Linked DNA regions of Homo sapiens: region 1 is linked to region 2. The links are contacts of gene promoters, found by promoter capture Hi-C in blood cells and fetal thymus (Javierre and others, 2016). All regions are on one chromosome and are shown on one strand. Each heading gives the region's core, a stretch centred on a gene start or on the middle of the fragment in contact. The rest is flanking DNA. Distances are from core to core; before and after follow the strand shown.

What was found. The method cuts DNA at HindIII sites, captures the fragments that hold promoters and counts their contacts. A CHiCAGO score of 5 or more calls a contact.
Region 1: the fragment with the promoter of PRR22 here is called in contact with the fragment with the promoter of RANBP3 in region 2 in 1 of 17 cell types (naive CD4 T cells); the score reaches 5.3 in naive CD4 T cells.

Annotation. Positions count from the first base shown.
Region 1 is chr19:5,783,175-5,786,065 of GRCh38, reverse strand. PRR22 (proline rich 22) reads left to right here and starts at 1,320. Exons shown (of 3, transcript NM_001134316.2): 1 at 1,320-1,535; 2 at 1,627-1,689; 3 at 2,013-2,891. The coding sequence starts at 1,406. DUS3L (dihydrouridine synthase 3 like) reads left to right here. Exons shown (of 13, transcript NM_020175.3): 11 at 275-463; 12 at 555-683; 13 at 791-926. The coding sequence ends at 863. The HindIII fragment of the contact is 18,380 bases long and covers 1-2,891 here.
Region 2 is chr19:5,976,290-5,979,425 of GRCh38, reverse strand. RANBP3 (RAN binding protein 3) reads left to right here and starts at 1,286. Exons shown (of 17, transcript NM_007322.3): 1 at 1,286-1,365. The coding sequence starts at 1,344. RANBP3-DT (RANBP3 divergent transcript) reads right to left here and starts at 1,023. Exons shown (of 4, transcript NR_046376.1): 1 at 912-1,023. RefSeq lists silencers at 893-942, 993-1,162, 1,393-1,502. The HindIII fragment of the contact is 6,470 bases long and covers 1-3,136 here.

The DNA.
Region 1 (2,891 bases), core at 71-2,570, 190 kb after region 2:
GCAGGACAATTGCCTGAACCTGGGAGACGGAGGTTGAACAGTGAGCCGAGATCTTACCACTGCACCCCAGCCTGGGCGACAGAGCCAGACTCCGTCTCAGAAAAAACAAAAGAAAGTCCTGTGCTTTGAAGGTTGTGTGCATGCAGCTGGGAGGCTTACTAGGCTTGTAGGTTTTGTGGTCTGGGCTCCGGCTCAGGCCAGGCCATGGAAGCAGAGGCCACACGATCCCAGGCAGGCTGGTGGCTGGGCCCACTGATCGTCACCCGTCCCACAGTGGCGCCCTGCTCAAGCCGTGGCTCTTCACGGAGATCAAGGAGCAGCGGCACTGGGACATCTCGTCGTCCGAGCGCCTGGACATCCTGCGGGACTTCACCAACTACGGCCTGGAGCACTGGGGCTCGGACACGCAGGGCGTGGAGAAGACCCGGCGCTTTCTGCTCGAGTGGCTGTCCTTCCTGTGCCGGTGGGCACCGGGGCTGGCTGGGGTGGGCGGCGCGTGGGCCGCGGCTGGTTAGAGCTGACTCAAGCCTGTCCTGCCCGCCCACCCGCCGCAGGTACGTGCCCGTGGGGCTGCTGGAGCGGCTCCCACAGAGGATCAACGAGCGGCCGCCCTACTACCTGGGCCGCGACTACCTGGAGACGCTGATGGCCAGCCAGAAGGCAGCCGACTGGATCCGCATCAGGTGCCTGGGTGGGCTGGAGTTGGGGAGCTGCAGTCGGGGGCCCGGGGTCACGGAGGGTACTTTGCAGGTCCTGGGCCTGACCTCGCTTTCCACCTGCTCTCCCACAGCGAGATGCTCCTTGGGCCAGTGCCCCCCAGCTTCGCCTTCTTGCCGAAGCACAAGGCCAACGCGTACAAGTAGCCTCAGGCTTTCCCAGGGGCACCCTGGGGCGAGGAGAGTACAATAAATTTTATTCTTTTAAAATCCAGGCCTTTCTGTGACCCTGAAGCAGCCCCTCCTCGGCCCCCACCTTCCCCAAACCTCTTAGCTGCCTCCATGGGCCCTGCCCCAAGCTGGGTGCTGCTGGTGCCCAGAGAGGCCTTGACCCCCAAGAAGGTAGCGGGTTGAGGACCCGGGGGGCCTCAGCCTGTGTGGGTGTGGATCAGGGCAGCCTGCCTGGAGGAGGCGGCCTCAAAGCTGTTAGGGGGGTGTTGCTGGAAGAGGCAAAGGCCTGGCCCAGAATCCTCCCTCCCATGGTGATGACCATGTCTGCCAACGTCTGCCCCTGCTTGCCCCCAACACCCAGAACCCCAACCAGTGGGCGCGCTGCAGGCTGGAACCCGCTGCCCCGAGTAACCAGGCAAACAGAACCCCACCAGGTTCTCAGCCTGTTCTCCGGTTGGGCCACTTGCACTCCCACTGCCGCCCTCCTGGCCTGTCTGGACCGGGCCCCCCGCTGCCCCATGCAGCACCCCAAACCGTTCTGTGCCCCTGCAGCTCCCCAGGAAGGTTTCAGCCCGCAGAGTCTGGAGGGGGCTGAGGTGCTGGGCAACCAGCCTGCTCCCACCTGTGCCGAGCCTCCTCCCGCTATGGGTACGATCGGGTGGGTGGGAGCACCTGCTGGAGAGGGTTCAGGGGCCCACCCGCCTAAGGGCCCTACCCACCTGGGCACCTTTGTCCACAGGCTCCTTGAACCTGTATCATCCCCCAGACCCAGAGAAAGAGGTGTTTCCAGCCCCACCAGCAGGTACCGGCCTCCCCTGAGCCCTTGACGAGGCTGGGAGTGGGTTTGAGTGTGCAGGCCCATCTTGCCCCTGCCCCGTCCCTAAGTGGGAGCCTGAAGGCATGGCCTCTGCTCCCCATGCTTCACACAGGTCCCCCAGATGAGCCCCAAAGACAAGCTCTGTGTCATCCATCACCCAGCCAGGGCCCCAAAGCAATATCTATGTCGTCCCCCAAAGGGGCCCCCCAATGGCAAGGTTCTTGTGGCATCTCCCAAACAGGCCCCCAGGCTTGGGCTGGGCCCCTCAGGCAGCAGCTGCTCTCAGGGCACCCGCCTGCCGCCCACAGGTTTCCAGATGGCCCCATGCGGGTGCTTCTTCGACCCCCGCATCTATCGGATCGAGTGGACCACCCCCGACCTGGGCCAGTCAGCCCTGTATAAGCTGGCAGCAAGCAGCGGGGGGCCAGCGGGGGTCCCCTCCGCCCCAGGCAGCTACCTCCTGGAGCCTCAGCCCTACCTCAAGGCCCCGGGGCTGCCTCCATACCCCCACTACCAGCAGGCACCCGGGGGGCCCCAGTTTCTCTTGCCCTACTTCCCGCCTGAGGGCCCCGGGCCAGAGGCTCTGGGTTTTGTGGGGGACGCAGGGCCCGCCGCCTTCGTGGAGCTGCCCCTACCGCCCCTAGAGGAAGGCCCGGCCCCGCTGCCACCCCCACCCCCCAAGGAGAACAAGCCGCCCCCTGTACTCATCACGCTGCCTGCAGAGCCCACACTGCCCCCAGACGCCTACAGCCACCTCCAGGGTCACCTCGGCCACTTCCCTGGGCCCGAACCCCTGGCCTTCCCCGTCAAGGAGCTGCAGGGCAGTGGGGCCCGACCTGGGGTGCCCCTGTACCCACCGGGCCTCAGCGAGCTCAAGGTGGCCGAGGTCAAGGAGGGGGCCCTGCTGGGAGCAGGCAAGGCCAAGGCCCCCAAGACGGCCAGAGCTTTGGCACTGCCTGACAAGGTTCTGCTGGAGGACGCCATGAAGCTCTTCGACTGCCTGCCAGGCGCCTCTGAGCCTGAGGGTACCCTGTGCGAGGTCCCTGGGCCGGCCCTGCCTGACAGCAGTGGTGGGAACTCAGCCGATGACATCCGCTCGCTGTGCCTGCCCGAGGAGCTGCTGTCCTTTGACTACAGCGTGCCTGAGATCCTGGACACCGTGTCCAACGTTGACTACTTCTTCAACT
Region 2 (3,136 bases), core at 37-2,536:
CCTAGGATGGTGGCAGTGGCACTGTCACAGCTCACTGCAGCCTCAACCTCCTGGGCTCAAGTGATCCTCCTGCCTCAGCCTCCCAAGTAGCTGGGACCACAGGCTTGCACCACCACATCCGGGTAATTTTTGTGTTTTTGTAGAGATGGGGTCTTGCTCTGTTGCCTAGGCTGGTTTTGAACTGAGCTCAAGCGATCCTCCCACCTTGGCCTCCCGCAGTGCTGGGATTCCAGGGGTGAGCTACCGCGTCTGGCTGATTATATTTTTCAAAGACTCCTCAGCCTGCGGCCATGTGCAGAACCAAGCCTGGGGCTTCAAAAGAATGCAGCAAAGGATAGCAGAGAGGCCGCTGTCCAAGTCTTCCATGAGATAGATACGGACGATGTGGCCTAGGGTGGTGACAGCCTGGGGGTGACAATGGGTGGCTCTGGGCTGTATTTTGGAGGCAAGGCCAAGTCCGAAGGATTTGCTGAGAGATTCATAGCAGGTGAGTAGAGAACAACTCCAGGGTGTCCAGGACCCTCCCATGAGCCTTGTGAGTGAGGCTGATGGTCCCATTTTACAGATGGGTAACCTGGAGGCGCGCGGTTCCCCTCCCATGAGCTTGTGAAGTTGATTCTCGTAGCTCCGAGGGGTCGAGTCCCTCGCGCCGGCTCCCCCCGCCCCCAACGCCAGCACCTGGGTCCCAGGGCTGCGCCCCCTCCTAGAGCCTGACCACGACCCCCGCCCCCGCCGATGAGCTCTGATTTACCCCCCAATCCCAAGCACCCCGCGCCCTCTCGCCACTTCCCCCGTGGTTTCAGGAAAGCGTTTGCCGAAGGTACCGGCTCCTAAGGCGGGTAAACTGAGGTAGGAGGCAACGCGTCTCCCGCCCGCGCGTGTGGGAAGCCCCCGCAGGCCCGGCGATTTACCTGGAGGAAGGCCTCGGCTGCGGCGCCCTGAACTGCTCACTGTCCCACCGCGGGGGAACCCCGGAAAACGAGTGGGAAAACGAGTGCTTCAAGACCCGCCTCGGGCCGCGCGGTGCCGCCTCACTAAACCTTAGTCGCTGCCACTGCGCATGCGCCCTTCCCGGCCCTTTCCCCGCCCTCTCAGTCGGCGGGAAAAGGAGGCGGGAGATGGCTCGTGCGCAGGTGCGTGCTAGGAGCGCGGCTCGTCAGGGCAGGCTGCTCTGCAGGGCAGGCGATCCGGGGCTCGCCTCCGCGCGGCATTCAGCGCGCAGGCGCGAGCTGGCCGCCTCACACGGAGTCGGCTTGTTAAGTGCGCACGCGCGGGAGTTTCTGGCAGAAAGCAGGCGAGCCTGGGCCGGCGCGGGGCCTTGTGGGAGGGCTTAAGGAAGTAAAATGGCGGACCTGGCGAACGAAGGTAGGGGAGGCGCCGTTGGGGACCGGCTGGCGGCCGGGGAACGGGCGGCGGGAGGACTAGGGGCCACAAGCCCTTGGGGGGAGCACCGCAGAGTGCAAGGGTTTCGTCCGCTCCAGGCTAGCGCCGTGGCGGGCCTTGCAGCCGCCCCCTATTGCGTCCCCTCAGGCCGGGCTCACCGGCCCGGCCCATCACTCCCGGCAACCCCAGCCACTGCAGCCGTCTGGCTAGAGGAGCCGGGTGGCCATCGGGATCGCAGCCCTAAGGCCCCTCTGCGTCGCAGCCAAGCTCGGGGCTGAAGGGGGCGGGAGGCGCGGCCCCAGTGCTTCGGCCACGGATGTAAATAGACCTTAGGGCCTGGTTGTGGCCCGGAGCGCGCCACGCTCCCTCCCCGCCCCCTCGTCCTCCGCCACCCGGCATCTCCCCTTCCCCGGCCTGGCTGCCTATCTCCTAAGCCCGTGAGGCCCTCGTCCTCCGCGGGCCAGCCGCACACCGCGGACGGAGGAAGCCCAGGCCGTTTTCACCCCGTCCCCGCCCCGAACTTCGGCCCCCACTTCCCGCCAGTTCCCCCCGGATCCTTCGGGGCGCTTCGTCTCCCCCTCATTTAGGCCCCGCCGCAGGATCTGGGCCGCCGAAAACCCTGGCTGCTCTTTGGCCCTTTTTGCTGCACTTCCAGACAAGAGACCGTGCGAGTCCCTCCTCTGTGGAGCGCTGACAGCCCACCTGAGTGTTTTTGACAAGGTTACACTTCCAGATCCCCCGAGAAGGCACCATAAGGCTGATGTCTGCTTCCATCCATAGTCGTGTTGCCATCGCTGTAGCTTCAAGACTTCTGAGGCCTATTTTTAGCTCCCCCCCTTTTCTAGTTGCACAAATGCAGGCAAGCTCTCTACCTGTCTGGCTCTGATTCCCCCATTCGGTGCTCCCTGTGACTGGAGGGTTTTCCCTACCGAATTGCAGTAATGAATGAATGATGATAGGAAGTGCTTGGTCTTGTGGAGCATTTAGGGTAGTTACCAGGTGTGGTGCAAAGTCTTGACATACTGTTTTCCCTGGTAGGAGGTATAGATACTGTTAGCCCCATTCACTTGATGAGGAGACTGAGTCAACGTGGTTAAGTCGCTTATCCAAGGCGTGTCACACAGCTGGGAAGGAGCAGGGATGTGAACCAAGATGGCCTGGCTTCAGATGCCAGACCACGGGTGCTCAGTCCCTGCAGATTCTGATTCTGTGTGGTGTTGGGCGGGCGCTGGGCATCTGTACAGGCAGCAGCACAGGTTCTCTCCCTGATTCTTGGCCATTTTATTCTATTTTATTTTTTGGGACGGAGTCTAGCTCTGTAGCCAGGCTGGAGTGCAGTGGCGCCATCTCGGCTCACTGCAATCTCCGCCTCCCGGGTTCAGGTGATTCTCCTGCCTCAGCCTCCCGAGTAGCTGGGATTACAGGCGCGCACCACCACACCCAGCTAATTTTTGTGTTTTTAGTACAGACGGGGTTTCACCATGTTGGCCAGGATGGTCTCCATCTCCTGACCTCGTGATCTGCCCGCCTCGGCCTCCCAAAGTGCTGGGATTACAGGCGTGAGCCACCGCACCCGGCTGCTACATCTCTTTTTTTAAGATAAAGGAGCCCATGGAGGGTTGCAGCATTCCAACTCATGAGATCTAGTTACAGAGGGACTGGGTAAGTGGGAATCAGTATGACATATTTTATGTATTTACATCCTGAGCCCACATAGCTTCTTGAACTCAGGACTCATGTCCAGCATCACATT